Linked DNA regions of Homo sapiens: regions 1, 3, 4, 5 and 6 are each linked to region 2. The links are contacts of gene promoters, found by promoter capture Hi-C in blood cells and fetal thymus (Javierre and others, 2016). All regions are on one chromosome and are shown on one strand. The core of a region is centred on a gene start or on the middle of the fragment in contact, and the rest is flanking DNA. Distances in the headings are between cores, read along the strand shown.

Region 1 (3,316 bases), core at 164-2,663, 810 kb before region 2:
GGCATAACTTTTATTACACTATATTGTTGTAATTATTCTATTTTATTATTAGTTATTGTTGTTAATCTCTTGTTACTAATTTATAAGTTAAACTTTATCATAAAAATGTATATATAGGGAAAACATAGTATATATAGGGTTCAGTACTATCTGTGGTTTCAGGCATTCATTGGAGGTCTTGAAACATATCCCCTGCAGATAAGAGGAAGACTGCTGCATTATTAAAAACTAAATTGTAGGCCCGGCGTGGTAGCTAACGCCTGTAATCCCAGCACTTTGGGAGGCCGAGGCAGGTGGATTGCCTGAGCTCAGGAGTTCGTGACCAGCCTGGGCAACACAGTGAAACCCCATCTCTACTAAAACACAAAAAATTAGCTGGGCGTGGCGGCATATGCCTGTGATCCCAGCTACTTGGGAGGCTGAGGCAGGAGAATTGCTTGAACCCATCAGACGGAGGGTGCAGTGAGCCGAGATCATGCCACTGCATCCAGCCTAGGTGACAGAGCAAGACTCCCTCTCAAAAACAAACAAACAAAAAACTAAATTGTAATGTGTTAGTCAAAAGAGACAAGGCTTAGTTAACCCTTATTCACTATACATGAGAACTGTTTTACTTGAATTAGTATGGTATTAGTCAGGTGTGCTGGCGTGTGCCTGCAGTCCTAGCTACTTGGGAGGCTGAGGCAGGAGGATCACTTGAGCCCAGGAAGCAGAGGTTACAGTGAGCCAAGGTCATGCCACTGCACTCCAGCCTGGGTGACAGAGCAAGACCTTGTCTCAGTTTAAAAAAAAAAAGGGCCAGGTATGGTGGCTCACGGCTATAATCCCAGCACTTTGGGAGGCTGAGGCGGGCAGATCACCTGAGGTCAGGAGTTCAAGACCAGCCTGGCCAACATGGCAAAACCCCATCTCTACTAAAATACAAAAATTAGCCGGGCATGGTGGCAGGTGCCTATAGTCCCAGCTACTCGGGAGGCTGAAGCAGAATTGCTTAAACCCAGGAGGCGGACATTTCAGTGAGCCGAGAACTCACCACTGCACTCCAGCCTAGAAGACAGAGCAAGACTCCGTCTCAAAAAAAAAAAAAAAAAAAAAATTAGTACGGCTATAAATGTAGAATTCCAAATAAGTTTAATATAATATTTCATCATTCAGTACTAATAAATTTAATATTATGGAACTGTTGCAGGCCTTACTTTCCATTTATTAATCATATGACTTTGAACAAATTCCGTAAATCACTCCCAATACCACCACCACTCTTCAGTTTACTTTCATCTGCAAAATGAAATAGGAACTATTTGTCTGCTTCTATAGGGTGACCATAGGTATCAAGTGAAAAAATATACAAAAACATGCTTTGAAAACTGTAATATGCCATTACAACATAAAGTATTACGGTTAAAGAAATTGGAAATGGGTCAGGCGCGGTGGCTCACGCCTGTAATTCCAGCACTTTCGGAGGTTGAGGCAGGTGGATCACAGGTCAAGAGATCAAGATCATCCTGGCCAACATGGTGAAACCCCATCTCTACTAAAAATACAAAAATTAGCTGGGCTTGGTGACATGCTACTCGGGAGGCTGAGGCAGGAGAATGGCGTGAACCCAGGAGGCAGAGGTTGCAGTGAGCTGAGATCGTACACTGCACTCCAGGCTGACAACAGAGCAAGACTCCATCTCAAAAAAAAAAAAAGAAGAAGAAGAAAGAAAGAAACTGGAAATTGGAAGTGTACCTGATTCTTCATCTGCTATATAAATGCAAACAAGAGTCCAATACAACTTTGTCATCAAAATTATAGTAGGCAAAGCACGGCCACAAATTCTTTGACATTTTTCCTTTCAAAGGTGAGGGTTGTACGCTGGTCTTTGCTCTAACCAACAGAGTATGTTGGAAGTAATGTTGTGCGAATTTCTGGGCTCAGGCTTTTTGGGAGACTGGCAGCTTCTACTTCCTGACTCCTCAAACATGTATTCTCGGAACCTAGCCGCCATACTGTTCAAGTCACGTGAAGAGGCTATGTGTGGGCATTCCAGTTGACATTTCCAGCTGAACTCCTAGCCAACATCAAACGCCTTCACGTGAATTAGCCATTTTGGATGTCCAGACCAGCTGAGCTCTCGGTTGACTCCAAACTCAGCTGCTTATCTGAATACAAACGCATTAAACTCTAGGTGAAAACCACTTAGCTAAGTCCAGGCAGGCCAGAGAAACAGGAGAGATACTAAATTACAGTTTTAAGTCACTATGTTTTGGAGTGATTTGTTATGCAGCAATAGGTAACTGGGACAACAACAAGGTATTTTTTAAATGTTTCCTTAATTATATCTAATTTTATTAGCAACACATACCTGAAGACATTTTTTTCCTTTCACTTCCATAAATATGAGTGCATTTTCATGGAGAAAAGTTCGTAATATAGTGCTAGACTTATGAAAAAAATTTAATGTACTGGCTTTATTTTCCAACTGTCTTACCCAAAAGTCATTTTGATTATTTTCCATTATGTCCACGCTTTTTATTTTTTATTTTTTGAGACGGAGTTTTGCTCTTGTCACCCAGGCTGGAGTGCAATGACGCAATCTCGGCTCACTGCAACCTTCGCTTTCCAGGTTCAAGCGATTCTCCTGCCTCAGCCTCCAGAGTAGCTGGGACTACAGGCGTGCACCACCACGCCCAGCTAATTTTGTATTTTTAGTAGAGACCGGGTTTCGCCATGTTGGCCAGGCTGATCTCGAACTCCTGACCTCAGTGATCCGCCCACCTCCGCCTCCCAAAGTGCTAGGATTACAGATGTGAGCCACTGCGCCCAGCCACGTCCACATTAATAAACAAATGCCCATAAAGATTAAAGTCCAAGTAAATATATTAAAAAACGAAATGCTAAAAAAGGCACCTTTAAAACATTTTTGTTAGTTTTTCTTATACATTGTTTTCTTAAAAAAACAGATGTCTATGTGCAAAATTTCATTAATGAGAGGTGTATTTTTTTTTTAAACTACTACAGGGTCTTCACTAATATTAAAGATGCATCCAATGTGTCACAAGAAAAGGAATACATATTTCAAAGCAGCCATATCAACATGATAAAGACATAACACAACCGATATCACCTTCCAGATATGCTTAATAGTCCAGGGATATGCTGTAAGGAGAAACTACCCAAATCCATCATGAATGACATTCACCAACGAATCTTAAACAGAATCGGCTGAAATGCAAAAATCTGCTTACATAGCAAAGCCGCAGCAGAGCAAGCCTAAAACAGGAATACTTCCTTAACAAATACCACTTGGCATTTTTAATGGCTGCAGCAA
Region 2 (3,095 bases), core at 294-2,793:
ATTAACTCATAGATGGGCCACAGCAATGTCTTAAACCTCTTTGAGTACTTATTATTAGTTCCACATATTTGACATGGAAAAATGCATTTATTGTGGAGGTACTTTAGTGAATCTATCCCCTCCAGCATTCAACTCTGTAAGAGCAGATTCCTTCCCTGATCTCACCTATTCCTGATTCTTATGCAACAGCAGGAACTCAACAAACACTTGTTAACTAAATCAAAACCATTCTGCAAAACACATCCAGTAAGCATCTCACTACTGAAGTATCTGACAAACTACCTTTATGGGCCGTCTGCAGCCTAGCACAAGTGGCAGGCTGGCAATTTTTTTTTCTCCAAAATAATAACAAAAAGCTTCTACCTCTTCCATTATTGTAAGCTGACTCACCTCCCAATGGAACACTATACAGACTCCCCTGTCCTATATTGTGGACCAATTCAGTATTAGAAAAAAACCACTTCCAATTTTCTTTAGAGTGTTTTTAAGAACTTGGTCACATAGGACCTACAGGTCCAACATTCATTTTTCATAATCCAAGGTAGTAGTACCCTTTTTCATATAGGATCAATGGCCTCTCCCACACCACCCGCCATATGGTAACAAACTGTCTTGCCTTCGTTTTCATGGTGCACTGGGTTAGTCCTTACATGCTGCGATCTACAGTATTGATTTTACCATCCAACTTTGTGGGCCTGGCGACTGAAAATGTTAATATACTTCCTTATTTGTCCTACATTCCCAATAAATAATTTAGACGTAAGAAACAGGCTCTTTTGCTTATTATGTAACCACAACCTCAATATTTTAAATACACTGCATGGCATCACTAATTCTACGTCTGTACTACGCTTCCCCTTCCGTGATAACCAAACCCCCACAAACCACTCCAAATACTAAAAATAAAATAAAATAAAGTATGGGGTTCCTAGGGAACTGACTTTGCCAGGACATACTTTTCGTTGGGGCGGAATGCACCGAAAATCATTGGTAGGAAAAATAATTTTTTTTTTGAGGAAAAATTTGGAAACCTTTTTCCCAAAGGGCCCGCAAGATCCTAAAAAAAGCAAGAGACCGCGCAGAAACCGAGGATCCCCCTCACAGGCGACACCCAGCGCGACCTCCGCTAGGGTCCTGACAAAGAATGTCCACTTCCCGCGGCCGCACCTCTGGGGCCAGACCACTGGTCTCCAGAGAGGCGCGGGGACCTCCACCAGGGATCGGAGTGGTACTCAGACCTGCACACCCGCGAGTCCTCGAACAGCTCCACACGTCTCCAGCTCCGCCCGAGCCCGAGCCACGCGCCGGGCCGTGATCGCGCACGGACCAGACGGAGCGCTTTCCGGGAGACACCAGAGGGAGGAGCCAGGCAGTTACTAGCGTCGTTGCTAAGGCAGGGGCCGCGCACACCGCACACCGCGCGGCTTAAGCAACAGGCTGGGACGACAGCGGGGGGGGGGTTAGACGGGAAGTTCCGCCTCAGCCTCTCAATCAGCGGCGGTGTCGCACTTCTCCCGAGAGGCTCCGGCGAGGGGCAGGGCCGCGTTCGTCCGGGACCCGCCTCAAGCCTCGCAGCCTTTCACCCAGTTTCCTCCCGATTCTTGCTGGGACAACAAAATTGGGAAGCGGTTCTCGAAACATACTGTCAAGGCGTAGTTGCAGTGAGTTGTGAAGAAATGTTGATCCCAGAGAAAAGTTTGCATTTTGCCCACCTCAAAGATATTTTGATTGTGAGAACTTGGTTACATTAGTCTTTCGTGGCTATATCAATATCATTATTTCGTGTGCTGTGTGGTAATGAAAGCTATTAGAAAAATCATTTGTATCTTAATGATTTAGTTTGCATAAAAACACGCATATAGAGTTAAGAGTACTTTGTGTTTTTCCACTTTGAAGTATAATATGTGGATAAGTTATTAGAACATTTGTCCGTGCCTCTCCCCAAACAATGCGCAAACGGAAGTGCACTCTAACAACTAAGATTTTAAAACACAATGGTCAAATGTTGAGCAATGTTTTATTGACTACTCTGAATTTATCAAGTGGTAGATAAAGGACATTACAATGCCCTAGAAGTGCTCACGATATCAAGTAAAGCATGTTAAATTCAAGTACAGAAAATGCAATATTCTTACTACTGAGATAAAAAATGGAATTTAATAAATTACAGGAATTTCAAGAAAGCTGAGAATGGAGTGGTCAATAAAGGCTTCTTTTTCGGACTTGGGTAAGGCCTTGAAGAATGATTTAGGTTTAGGACAGTGTTTTTCAACTGGAAAGGGGATTGTGTGGGACCCATTAGTGGAGGTCTTGACCCATTTGTAAGCAAGGAAATCTCTTTAAACTTAAAAAAAAGAAACAATATAGATTGGAAATATCAGCGCATGTAAGTAAATTTAGTGTTAGTTAGTAAAGTACTGCTTTATGGAGCTTTTAATTGTATATATGCGTGTATGTGTGCACTAGGGCTTGTTTGTAAAATGTATTTCTTACTGTATTTCAAACCTTAAAAAGTTTGAAAGCCAGTGATTTAGGGAGAAAGGTGAATTTTCTGGGTAGGGAAAGTAGAATAGCAAAGTCTATAAGCCAAGAAGAATTCACAACCATTTTCCTTTTTAGTTTAACTCTAAATTTTATCAAAGTAGTTAAATTGCACAGATTAAAAAGCAAATAATACTACTTGTTAGATTGAGCATTGGGTTGCTATCGTATGTAATAAATTACTCCAAAATATGGTGGCTTAAAACAACCATTTTATTATGTTCACAGGTGGTGTTGTCAATAGGGCATAGTCATCAGCTTTTCTTTGGTAACTCAATTAGAAAGACTAGAGTGGGCATGCTAGCAGAGCTTCTGTAACTATATGGCCGGGGTTTCCTCACAGTATGGCAGCAAGGTAGTCAGACTTCTTAGCTTAAACTCAGAGCTCCAAAGGGAGTGTTGCAATGAACAAGGCAAAAATTGCCTGACCTTTTCTGACCTTGCCTCAAAAAGTAACGCGGTGCTACTTCCCCCACTTTCTTTTGCTTACAAATGTGTCAAAGTCCTGTTCCATTTTAGGAAAGGAGACATAGATCCCTCTTCTCAAAGGATTG
Region 3 (3,080 bases), core at 212-2,711, 710 kb before region 2:
TTATGGATGAAGTAATGTGATAATATAATGATAATGTGATCACTCAGGCAATCCTCCCACCTCAGCCTCCTGAGTACCTGGGACCACAGATGCACACAACCTCGACCTGTCTAATTTTTAAAATTATTTGTAGAGACGAGGTCTCGCTGTGTTGCTCAGGCTCAAACTCCTGTGCTCAAGTGATTCTCCCACCTCAGTCCTACAGACTGCTGGGATTGTAGGTGTGAGCCACCATGTTTGGCCTGGAAATGTTCTTTTTCTGTGCTGTCCAATATTGTAGTCATAAGCTACATAGGGCTATTGAGTACTTGAAAATTCAATAAACTGAATTTTTAAGTTTATTGGCTTAATAAGTTATTAAGTTATTAATAAGTTATTAAGCCAATAAACTTAATTTTTATTAAATATCCACATGCACCATATTGGACAGTATGTTTTTAAAGGATATACTTAGGACAGGATGAAATTGATCTCAAATCACAAAATGAAATGTATGAAGAGTAAATTAAAGGTAAAGAAAATGATACATATTTAGAGAATGAAAATGAATATGGATTGCATTAAACATAGTAAAAATGTCTAATGGATTAAAAACAAGGGTATAACAAGTAGGATAGGTAGAGTCTAGGATTTAAGGTCCTTGTCTTACCTAGAAGGATAGTAATTTAAAAAAAACCTCTTATGGAAAATTTTAAATATGTAAAAGAGAAGAGTATAATGAATCCTTATGTATTTATTACCCACCTTCAACAGTTATGAATTCATGACTAAAGTGTTTTTATATATATCCCAAGTATTTTAAAGTAAGTCCTAACAATCACATTATTTAACCCATAAATATATTGTTCTTATAAAAGATATGGGCTTAAAGTATAATACCAGTATCATATACAGAAAAAAATCAATAATTTCTTAGCATTATGTAGTTAGTATTCACATTTTCCCAATTATCTAAAAAAAGATTTAAAAAATTATATTTGGTTTCTTCAAACTGGAATCCAAACAGGGTCTACATATTGCATTTTGTTGATGTGTTGCTTATGTCTTTTAAAATCTATAGATTTTTTGGGAAAAGAGAGAATAAAGATTTTGATTAGACTTTACTGCATGGTATAATTTCTAGAAAACCAACAAAAGAACAGAAACAGAGGGTATAACTTCCAAATCAGTAGAGGAAATAAATAGAATGCTAAAAAGAATTGAGGGGAAAGAAGGCAGCAACAACAAAGGAGAGAAAAGAAACTGGACAGGGGGCTGGGCACGGTGGCTCATACCTATAATCTCAGCACTTTGGGAGGCCGAGGCAGGTGGATTGCTTGAGGTCAGGAGTTCGAGACCAGCATGATCAACATGGTGAAACCCCGTCTCTACTAAAAATACAAAAATCAGCAGAGTGTGATGGTGCATGCCTGTAATCCCAGCTACTTGGGAGACTGAGACGGGAGAATCGCTTGAACCCAGGAGGTGGAGGTTGCAGTGAGCAGAGATCATGCAACTGCACTCCAGCCTGGGCGACAGAGCGAGACTCTATTTCAAAAAAAACAAAAAACAAAAAACAAAAAAAAAAACTGAACGGGACAAATGGAAAGCATAAAATATGATGTTAGATTTAACTTAAATATATAGCAATTAAAGGTAAATTGTCTAATAACCACACAGGTATCATCCAGGCCTGAGGTGCCAGCAGCTCTTGCCTGGAATAATTTTCTAACTAGTACGCTTGTTTCAGTTCTTGCTTTCCACTATGTATTAACCAAATGATAACAGGAGTAGCCTCTTAACAATGTAAATCACATCACAACACTCTCCTGTTTAAAACTTTCTGACAACTTGCTAGTAATCTCAATAAAATTCACTCTTTCTAGTGCCTATAAGGTTCTATGTGATCCAGCCCATTTGTATTTCTATGATTGCATTTCCTGTTATACTTCTTCACTGTAGCTCAGGGCGCTTAACATATGCTGTTCCATTTCCCTGGATCACCAGGGTCAGCCAGAATTCTTAGTTCTAAGTAGTCAAATAATCTCTGGTTAATTTAACAGAAAAGGAATTTATCACAGGAGGAAGCTGCTACCACTACTGTTATTGGAATCTGCTGCCACGTTTGCCACTAAGGGTTCTACACACTCTCGGCTTTTTAAATGCACTATCTTCTACATTAAGGTCCAGCACAGATGCTTCTCTTGTGGAGTGGAGGTCATATGACTGTACCCTTGCCTTATGGGAAGCAAGGAAAGCAAATATTCAGTAGTAGGCAGAGGTTTCTGCCTTCTTTCAAGATGCATATGGAAGGGAATTCCCCAAGGACAAGAAGGTGTTTTGATGCTAAGCAACCAAGAGAATGACTTGTGCATCATGATGCTTCCTTTGGATCCTCCCTAGGTTTGCTTTCCCTTTCATTCCTGTTTCTACTCAGTTGTCACCTCCTCAGAGAGGCCTTTTGTAATCACTTTCTCCAAAATGGCAATTCCCTATCCCTAATCTAGTACTCTGTTTCTTACTCTGCCTTACTTTTTCTTCATACCGTTTATCACTGCCACAACCACCACTACTACTACTACTTATTTACTTCTTTATTGTGAAGTTCTTATCCCAGAACATAAGCTCTTTGCTCTTCATTTACTCAGTAAACATTTGTTTGTTGAATGAAGAGAAACATAGAGATTATGCTATATATTGCTGAGGAAATTTAAGAGCTCATCTTAGAAAGTTTTGTTGGAGAAAAGATCTTTTAAAAATGGGCTTTGATTGAAGTATAGCATTTGGAGAGAAAGGATGTAACCATTCTAAACTGGGAAAATAGCATGAGGGGAGACATTGGGTCTGGAATAAGGTAAGTGTGTATGGGATGAGGAAGGAGAATTGGGTCTGGAATAAGGTAAGTGTGTATGAGATGAGGAAGGAGAATTGTTTAAAATCGGATGACTGTCAGGGCCCTATATTCAGAGAAAAATGGATGAAGTAAATGTGTGAGGCAGTTGATAGAGGGACTCAAATTGCAAGGTGAGATCTTGTGATTGCTAGAGTAAGAGATAACTAGTTTTTTTTTAATTAAAAGTATACAATGGTATTTTCACATA
Region 4 (3,255 bases), core at 108-2,607, 530 kb before region 2:
AACAAAAGATGTTCCAGGATCACCTTGTGCTTCCCTTGACCCAGCCCTGGAATCAACCATTTCTCCGTGGGATCCTGCTTTTGTCTTTTGACTATGGTGTTTAGACATGGAAGCCAGGGTGCAGGTATACTCCTTCTGCAGGAGGGTTATTGCTTCTAGGCTCTTTCAATGGACAAAATAGGAAGTATATACTTTTTTTTTTTTTTTTTTTTTGGAGACAGTGTCTCTTTCTCTCTGTCACCCAGGATGGAGTGCAGTGGTGTGATCTCTGTTCACTGCAACCTCCGCCTCCCCAGTTCAAGCGATTCTCATGCCTCAGCCTCCTGAGTAGCTGGGATTACAGGCATGCAGCACCACACCCGACTAATTCTTGTAATTGTAGTAGAGGCAGGGTTTTACCATGTTGCCCAGGCTGGTCTTGAACTCCTGACCTCAGGTGATCTGCCCACCTTGACCTCCCCAAGTGCTGGGATTACAGGCGTGAGCCACCGTGCCTGGCTAATACATAGTTTTAAAGACCTCGAATTTGTACTGATACCTCTAACTTCGTAACCCAACACCAAAGAGTTTGCGTCTTCTTCCTTTACTCCATATCTCTTTTAAAAAACAAAAAACAACCCTCCCATAATGGGAAAACTGGTTCCCAGTGAGACAGCCAAGTGGGAAGAGGATCCCTGGAAAAACTCCAACTGGCTTGTGCACTGGGAAGAGTGCACACTGGGGTGGAGACACAGAAGTTCACAACATTTGCAGAAGGGTTCCTCTTCCTGTGTGGAACCTGGGATTCAAGGCTCCTCCTCTTCCTGTGTGGAACTTGTGGGTGGGAAGTTCTCTAGCAGGGACTCTGGCCTTAGGAGGATCCCTGTTTCCCCTTTTTTCCCTTTTACCCAATACAACCCTGCTTTACTCACGCTTCAAACCATCTATGAGCCTAAATGTTGGTGACCATGGGACGGAAAAGGACCCTGTCTTTAGCTGAACTAAGGAAAAGTCCTGCAACACCAGCAAGATCAATATGTTTATCTATTTGAAATTCTAAAACACACGCAAAGTAGTTTCAGAATTACTACATCAATACCACTACCAAAGACAAACTTACCTTACCAGGTAAAGTTCAAGGCTTTCTTAATTATTATCCTTAGAATATTCCCTGAGGGTGGCCAGTTAGAATTTCACATTCACAAGTTACTTGGAATAATTATTTTTCTTGTTCTGAATAATTACATTTTTTATATGATACATGCTTAGGTTGATTTGTTTCTGTTTCTGTTCAACTTAACAGTCCTCCCAGCCTGGTGACTAAATTTTATATTTGAAAATGTAGGCCGGGCGTGGTGGCTCATGCCTGTAATCCCGGCACTTTGGGAGGCCAAGGCAGGTGAATCACGAGGTCAGAGTTCAAGACCAGCCTGGCCAAGATGGTGAAACCCCGTCTCTACTAAAAACACAAAAAATTAGCTGGGCACGGTGGCAGACGCCTGTAATCCCAGCTACTCGGGATGCTGAGGTAGGTGAACCACTTGAACTCAGAGGGCAGAGGTTGCAGTGACCCGAGATCGCGCTCCTGCACTCCAGCCTGGGCAACAGAGTGAGACTCCGTCTCAAAAAAAAAAAAAAAAGTAAACATTTATGTGGTTCAAGAGTAAAAACTATATAAAAATATAATCAGAAGAGTTCTATCTTTTTCCATCTTTCTCATTCATTTTCATCCTTTTGCTTTAGGTAATCAATCCCATTAGTTTCTGGTTAATCCTTTCTGCATTTCTTTTTTTGCAAAAATTAGGACATATTCATATATCTTCTGACAAAGTAGCTTTGGCCAAATAGAAATATTGTCTTGCTGGGCACAAAGCACCAATTTTCAAAAAAGTTCCCAATGACTGAGCAAGCATTTTCTCTTCTTGGTGTACCTGAGTGCACCTGTGATAGTAAGAAAGAAAGAAAGAAAGGAAGGAAAAAGAAAAAAAGACATGGTGAGAGTGGCGGTGAAGAGAGTAGGGGGCCTAATTAGCCTTAAGAATTTATTCACATTTAGTAAAATTTCCACTAGATGGCAGTAACACTCCAAGAATAAGTTTCCTTTGTGTTCTGGGATAGGGTGACGCACCTACATGGAATGATGAGCTGTGGAGTGTGTTTAGGACAGACTCCCACCCAATGCAGAAATATTTTAAATGGATTCATTTTTCAGGTAATACCAATTTAACTTTTAAAATTAACTCTAAATCCAGTTTATCCCTCAGTAATGTAATATACTGAAAAAAGAAAGAGACTGATCCTGAATCAATGTATGACTGATCTGTGATTTGATAGCCTCTCAAATCAGACAAGATACTATAAACAGCAAATGTTAAAAAACCCTTAAGATTCAGTAAAATGTATTTTTATGCCCAGTGTTAATTAAAATCTCTTTATTGAATGCACTTTACCTCTTTATTTTTTGTTCAATTTTGTTTTATCCTGATTTTTAAAACAAGTAAAAAGTAGTCAAAGCCAAAAAGTAAACTAAATATCAAGGTTCATTTTAACTCAGATTAGGATGTGGTACATATAGCTGGGATTGTAGAGGTAATACCATACCCCTGGTTAACTCAATAGATCTTGCAAAAAGTTCTATTTAATATCAGTCACTGCTTTTCATGGCTCAGCTAGGCTTTAAGAACGAAATATTTTCTACGATATTCAGTAGTGTAATATGATATGGAAGCAACTGCTTCCATAAGTGTAGAGGGCAGGAGTGATCTGATCAGCTGAGAGTAGTCCGTGACGGCTTCCAGGAGTAAGTGAACTTTGAAAAAGGTGCTGAAGGAAATCATAGATATGAGTTGATAGTTAGGGAAAGGTAGGCCCTGTGGATAGGAAGAAAGATGTAAAAAAAAAAACAAGGGTAATTGCAAATGATGTCATCTCATATTAGGTTATTCTTTCATGATGAAGTGAAGGAAAACATGCCTTAACTTTGTGATATAGTTTGGCTCTGTGTCCCTACCCAAATCTCATCTTGAATTGTAATCCTCATGTGTCAAGGGAGGGACTTGGTGGGAGGTAATGCCCCCATGCTGTTCTCAAGATAGTGAGTGAGTCTCATGTGATCTGATGGTTTTGTAAGTGTTTGACATTTTCCCTTTTTGCTCTTCTCTCCTGCTGCCACGTAAGATGTGCCTTGCTTCCTCTTTGCCTTCTGCCATGATTGTAAGTTTCCTGAGGCCTCCCCAGCCATGCGTAACTGTGAGTCAATCAAACCTCTTTTCTTTA
Region 5 (3,074 bases), core at 1-2,500, 690 kb before region 2:
CTGGGAGGTGGAGCTTGCAGTGAGCCGAGATCACGCCACTGCACTCCAGCCTGGGCAACAGAGCGAGACTCCGTCTCAAAAAATAAATAAATAAATAAATAAATAAATCTACCGTATGGCTGTATTGCTCATGGAATTTTAAAACCAGAGTAACTTAAGTATATTAGGTCCTAAACTGTGATATGTTTTGAATAATTAAGACAATTGAATAATTATGGTAAAAGTCGATTTGTTCAAATGCTTCATGATTTTATTATAATTCATGTAAGCAGATCTATGATTGATATTTTAAGTTCCCAACATTATACATTTTCTTTGTTTTTTCCGCTCATCCTCTCTAGTAAGTCAGGAACATAAAACTTTCCTTAATGTTATCATTTGCTTAGTTGACAGTCATACAATGTAATTTGTCCCTTTGAAAAAAAATTTTTTAAATTAGGTAATATAGTAACATTAGAAACTTTGTAAAATGACAAAATTTCCCATAATCATACCATCCTAAACAATTGTTAATATTTTTCAGTATTTTATACTTTATATGCATATTTTGACGTTAAAAAGATTTATATCTTTTCATAATGTGGCATAAATTTTTTGTTGTTTATATAGCTTCAAAACTATTAGGTTAAATTACTGCATTTTTTTCCTTTAGATTCTACAATTCAATCATTTTCTTACCTTTAGATTGGTCACATTAGAAGAGTTATATATAATATATATGTGTATGCATATATAATCTTTACTGATAAATCTGTTTCAATATATTTTTCCTTTAGAATAGATTCTTAGAAGTGGGATCACTTATTGGGTCAATGGACTTGGATATTTTTGTAACTTGTTAAATTTGCCCAGTTGACTAAAAAATAAAGCTGATCCACTTATATTACTATCAGCATATCTGAGTTGTCAATATATCAAAGCATCAGTTTCACTTAATTCTTGGCTGCATCAGGAATTACTTTAAAATTATTTACTTTATGTTAACCTGATTAACAGTGACACTGAGCATTTTTTGCCCTTGTGAATTATTTCTATTTTCTTTTCTGTAAAACATATGGTCCTGTCTTTTAACTATTGATGTGTTGGGTCCTTGCTGTTTACTTTTCCCCCACCTTTTCATTTTGAGTCAGACCTTTTAAATAAGTAAAACATGAATGTTTCTTCTAGTCATTTTTGTGGTAAATATATTTCTTTGCCATTTCTTATTTTGATTATTTTAATATGTAGAAGTTGCACATTTTTATGAGACTCAACAGTTATCTACCCATAGAAAATACTATGTGTTATCAAAGAAAGAACATAAGACAGTCAAAATTCAGGGTTCTGGACAGAGATATTTATAATACTTGTTATATTTGACAAAGGACTCATATCCAGAACATATGTCAGAACGCTTACAAATCAATAAAAAAAAGACAGACAACCCAGTTTCAAAAGGTGGGGAAAAGCCCTAAACTCTCACTTCACAAAAGATACTCAGATATCTAAACCATTTGGCAGTATGTATGCTGAATGAATGCAAACTGATTTTATATTACCTGTGTAAAACCTATTTAAAAATGTAGATTTTTGGAAAGATAAATTTCATCGTAAAGCCAAATTTATATCATTCAGAGTATAAATGCTGTATTTGTTAGTGTGACCAGTTTAGATTTTACCGTACTTCTGTAGGAGAGAGGTCGGTTTCTTTTTGCTTTATCCTGCCTTTAATAGGAAATTATTTTTGCAGGTTTCTTCCCTGTTGAATATGATGTTAATTTTTACTGTCCAGCAGTTACATATTATCTAGGAAAAAATGCCTCATTGGAGATCAGTAATCTCTATAGATCTTAGCGTCTTTAAGCAGGATTGAGGAGTATCTTGGCTTTCAGTGACTCCATCAAGGTATGAGAGAATAGGAGAAAAAAAGGAAAGGAAATCAGAAATTCAAGGATGAAAATGTTGCGAGTGTCACAGAGAAGTGTATTTAAAAAACCCATATAAATCCCACAAGTACATGTGGTTGTTTTTCCTATTCTTTACTACAGGATATAATATAGATTATTTTTTTTTTTTGAGATGGAGTCTCACTCTTGCCCAGGCTGGATTGAATTTTTAGTAGAGACAGGGTTTCACCCTGTTGGCCGGGCTGGTCTCGAACACCTGACCTCAAGTGATTCACCCACCTCGGCCTCCCAGAGTGGTGGGATTACAGGTGTAAGCTGCTGCGCCTTGCCATAATATAGATTATTTTTATCCTTACAAATGAAACAATTCTAAGAAATTCTTTCTTGCCTTGTGACGAAGGCCTGTTTGGGATATGTATATCTCACCTAATTATTGTGCAAGCCTCCAAGTATTAGTATCTGTCCCTGGTTACCTCTTCTGTGCTTGGTTATTCCCATCGTAGCTAATCTACTAAAAATTATAGGCATAATTCTGTTTATTTTCATGGACAGCTTTTCTTATAATTACCCCTTTTAGATTTCTTATCCCTTTTAATGATGTAGAACATTTTGTTTCTTTCTGGCAGAAATAACTTTTTCAAGCCCCATTTGCCAACTTCCTTCTCACACATACGCTCCTTTCTCTTCCTTATTGAGTGCAAGTTGAGTATCCCTTATCTGAAATACTTAGGTCCATAATGTTTCCGATTTTGGGTTTTTTCAGATTTTGGAATATTTGCATTAATACTTACTGGTTCAGCATCCCTAATGCAAAAATGCAAAATCTGAAATGCTCTAATGAGTATTTCCTTTGATGCTTAAAAAGTTTCAGATTTCAGATTTTTGGATTAGGGATACTCAACCTGTAATAGTTGTTCATACCAGGTAGAGATACACTAATCAACCTGCCATTACTCTCTTTATAATTTATTTTCTCTTGACTACTTACCTAACCCTCAGAGTATATACTTTTTTTGAGATAAATTTATACCCCAGGCACATTTTTTCATTGTAAATCTCAGGGATTCCATATATTCCCTTCCCCATGGGCCTAAAATTCTGCTTTTCCTTACTTAGGATACTGTATGACATAATTGAGTAATCTTCCAGCTGGATAGTCTTTCTGGGTTTGGAAACTTTCTTCTCAGA
Region 6 (3,227 bases), core at 616-3,115, 740 kb before region 2:
TCTCCTGTCTCAGCCTCCCGAGTAGTTGTGATTACAGGTACGTGCCACTACGTCTGGCTAATTTTTATATTTTTAGTAGAGACAGGGTTTTGTCATGTTGGCCAGGCTGGTCTTGAACTTCTGACCTCAAGTGATCTGCCTGCCTGGGCCTCCTAAAGTGCTTGGATTACAGGTGTTAGCCACTGCCTGGCCTCTACCCATTTTTTTATTGGATGTCTTCTTTTTTATTGATTTGTGGGAGTCTACAAATTCAAGATAGCAGCAAAGAGATGTATTTCTATTGTAGACATGAATGCATTTGGCTGGGTGTGGTGGATTACATCTGTAATCCCAGCACTTTGGGAGGCTGAGGTGGGAGGATCACTTGAGCTCAGGAGTTTGAGAATAGCCTGGGCAACGTGGCAAAACACAGTCTCTACAAAACATACAAAAATGAGCTGGGCGTGGTGGTGTGCACCTGTAGTCCCAGCTACTCAGGAGGCTGAGGTGGGAGGATCGCTTGAGCCCAGGTTGAGGCTGCAGTGAGCTGAGATCACATCACGGCCTTCCAGCCTGCATGGGCGACAAGGTGAGACCTTATTCCCTCCACCTCCCCAAAAGATGAAATGAATTCATTTGTTTGATGCTATTAGAATACCAGTAACTCCCCTTACTTTGGCCCCAAATTCACAAATGAACCCTCCAAAAGGTAATGCAGTTAACTTCATGCATTCTCTTTAAACAATGTACTGAGTCTTTATGCCAGGGAATTTGGAATTAACAGATACAGTACAGGTCTCTCATTTCAAAGTAGTATTCCTAATCATGAAGGAAATGAGAGACCTGTACTGGAATCCTGTCTTTAACACCTTTGAGGATGGTGAATTTAGGTAAGTTATTCAACCTATTTTAGCCTCGGTTTCTTCATTGGAAAAATGGGGCAAACAATACTTATTTTACAGAGTTGTGAGGATTAAATGAGACAATATATATAATATGCTTTGCACAGTGGCTGGCATACAGGAAACGTTTAATATATGGTAGCTACTATAAACTCGGTTATTTCCGTGTAGCTTTCCATGTCTACATGGAGGGAGAAAATGAGCAGATGTCCATTATAATTTAGCTATTACAGTTTTCACTCTAAAGTAAAAAAGGCATTTAGATTTATATGTCTTCTGGGAGTTTGGTTCTTCTGACTCCCTTCATCTGTGAGACCATAGGTACTTTTATGTAATATGATAAAAATTATTAGAAAAAGAAAAAAACGGCCGGGTGCAGTGGCTCACACCTGTAATCCCAGCGCTTTGGGAGGCCAAGGCAGGTAGATCACCTGAGGTTGGGAGTTCGAGACCAGCCTGACCAACATGGAGAAACCCGTCTCTACTAAAAATACAAAATTAGCAGGGTATGGTGGTGCATGCTTGTAATCCCAGCTACTTGGGAGGCTGAGGTAGGAGTATCGCTTCAACTCAGGAGGCAGAGGTTGCGGTGAGCCAAGATCGCACCATTGCACTCCAGCCTGGGCAATAAGAGCGAAACTCTGTCTCAAAAAAGAAAAAAATAAACTAAAAAGGAAAAAAGGGCCGGGCACGGTGGCTTACGCCTGTAATCCCAGCACTTTGGGAGGCTGAGGCAGGCGGATCACAAGGTCAGGCAATGAAGACCATCCTGGCCAACATGGTGAAACCCCGTCTCTACTGAAAATACAAAAATTAGCTGGATGTGGTGGTGCACACCTGTAATCCCAGCTATTTGGGAGGCTGAGGCAGGAGAATCGCTTGAACCCAGGAGGCAGAGGTTGCAGTGAGCCGAGACTGCACCACTGCACTCCAGCCTGGCGACAGAAAAAGACTCCCATCTCGAACACAAAAAACAAACAAAAAAAGGGAAATAAAGAATATGCAAAGTACAATCCCTCAAATTTTTATTAGACCCACAGAAATAAAATTAGTCTGTTAAACTGCTATAAGTTTCTAAATTCTTACTTTCTGTAAATGCCTTGACATGGATGTGTAACAAAGGGCTTACAGACTGGCACTGCCTTGTGGACCACACTTTTGGTGAGACTGCTCTAGAGCGCTGACAAAAATCAGACTTTGAATCCACAGGGCTGAAGTCAAAGCAACTGAAGGGTGTCCTGACTCACCAGCTGGCCACCTAGTGGCCTCCTTCTAGTCATAAGCACAACCTTGTGTCACTCCTTAGTTCAAAAACCATCCATTATTCTGCCTGACTCAAGGGTAAAATCTCAGTCCTTTAATCTGACATCCAAGGCCTTCCAGAGCTGGTTCTAAACAACTTTTTAAGTCTGACTTTCCACTATCCTCTACTTCACTAGACTGCATTGTCCAATATGGTAATAACTTGTCCCACTTGAAATGCAGAAGTGAAATGAGGCTAATTTAGGAACTGAATTCATAATCCTAACTTTAATTTAAAATAAAATTTAAAAATATACACGATTCGATTACCGTAAAACTTTTAAGTATGCTTGGAACGACTTGGGTACGTGAATCTATTTTTTCAGCTGGAAATTTTATGAAATCAAGTACTGAGATATGCTATAAGTATAAAATACACACCAGATTTCAAATGCTTAGTTATGAGAAAGATAATGTAAAATATTTTTAATATTTAGTAATTTTTTATGTTGATCACATGTGAAATAATATTTGGATATGCTAGGGGTTAAAAGTGTAATTAAAATTAATTCCACCTAGACAACATGCCCCAAACCTAGGCATCACTATTGATTCCTCCCTTTCCTCATTTAATTGGTAAGCAAGATAGGTCAGCTTTTTGGATCCATCCACTTCCCTCATCTCTACTGCTACTATCCTAGTCCATGATACTCCATTTCTTTTTTTTTTTTTTTTTTTTTTGAGACGGAGTCTCGCTCTGTCGCCCAGGCTGGAGTGCAGTGGCACGATCTCGGCTCACTGCAAGCCCTGCCTCCTGGGTTCACGCCATTATCCTGCCTCAGCCTCCCGAGTAGCTGGGACTACAGGCGCCCGCCACCACGCCTGGCTAATTTTTAAAAAAATTTTTTATTTTGAATAGAGACGGGGTTTCACCATGTTAGCCAGGATGGTCTCCATCTCCTGACCTCTTGATCCTCCCACCTCGGCCTCCCAAAGTGCTGGGATTACAGGCGTGAGCCACCGCGCCCGGCCAGATACTCCATTTCTTAAATCCTTCAATGGCTTCCAGTGCACTTCACCTTCTTATTGAGGCTGAAGACTTCA

What was found. The method cuts DNA at HindIII sites, captures the fragments that hold promoters and counts their contacts. A CHiCAGO score of 5 or more calls a contact.
Region 1: a contact is called between a fragment that was not itself captured here and the fragment with the promoter of FAM227B in region 2, in 2 of 17 cell types (naive CD8 T cells and naive CD4 T cells). The highest score is 6.2, in naive CD8 T cells.
Region 3: a contact is called between a fragment that was not itself captured here and the fragment with the promoter of FAM227B in region 2, in 1 of 17 cell types (naive CD8 T cells). The highest score is 5.2, in naive CD8 T cells.
Region 4: a contact is called between a fragment that was not itself captured here and the fragment with the promoter of FAM227B in region 2, in 1 of 17 cell types (neutrophils). The highest score is 5.5, in neutrophils.
Region 5: a contact is called between a fragment that was not itself captured here and the fragment with the promoter of FAM227B in region 2, in 7 of 17 cell types (megakaryocytes, M2 macrophages, naive B cells and 4 more). The highest score is 9.5, in megakaryocytes.
Region 6: a contact is called between a fragment that was not itself captured here and the fragment with the promoter of FAM227B in region 2, in 4 of 17 cell types (naive CD4 T cells, naive CD8 T cells, total CD8 T cells and 1 more). The highest score is 9.4, in naive CD4 T cells.

Annotation. Positions count from the first base shown.
Region 1 is chr15:50,425,339-50,428,654 of GRCh38, reverse strand. All of the region lies in intron 1 of USP8 (ubiquitin specific peptidase 8), which reads right to left. Among named protein-coding and RNA genes, the nearest start is that of USP8, 2.6 kb to the right of the region's middle. The HindIII fragment of the contact is 4,576 bases long and covers 1-3,316 here.
Region 2 is chr15:49,619,266-49,622,360 of GRCh38, reverse strand. It overlaps FAM227B (family with sequence similarity 227 member B), which reads left to right and starts at 1,543. Exons shown (of 16, transcript NM_152647.3): 1 at 1,543-1,661. It overlaps DTWD1 (DTW motif tRNA-uridine aminocarboxypropyltransferase 1), which reads right to left and starts at 1,313. Exons shown (of 5, transcript NM_001144955.2): 1 at 1,239-1,313. RefSeq lists an enhancer at 1,082-1,201. The HindIII fragment of the contact is 6,893 bases long and covers 359-3,095 here.
Region 3 is chr15:50,330,347-50,333,426 of GRCh38, reverse strand. The region is part of intron 1 of GABPB1 (GA binding protein transcription factor subunit beta 1); the gene reads left to right. Among named protein-coding and RNA genes, the nearest start is that of GABPB1-AS1, 22 kb to the left of the region's middle. The HindIII fragment of the contact is 5,779 bases long and covers 1-3,080 here.
Region 4 is chr15:50,144,379-50,147,633 of GRCh38, reverse strand. It overlaps a transcript of ATP8B4 not described here. Among named protein-coding and RNA genes, the nearest start is that of ATP8B4, 27 kb to the right of the region's middle. The HindIII fragment of the contact is 5,521 bases long and covers 1-3,255 here.
Region 5 is chr15:50,311,205-50,314,278 of GRCh38, reverse strand. The region is part of intron 1 of GABPB1 (GA binding protein transcription factor subunit beta 1); the gene reads left to right. Among named protein-coding and RNA genes, the nearest start is that of GABPB1-AS1, 41 kb to the left of the region's middle. The HindIII fragment of the contact is 6,518 bases long and covers 1-3,074 here.
Region 6 is chr15:50,357,942-50,361,168 of GRCh38, reverse strand. GABPB1-AS1 (GABPB1 antisense RNA 1) reads right to left here. Exons shown (of 1, transcript NR_024490.1): 1 at 2,857-3,227. It overlaps MIR4712 (microRNA 4712), which reads right to left and starts at 840; the gene lies at 759-840. The HindIII fragment of the contact is 6,184 bases long and covers 1-3,227 here.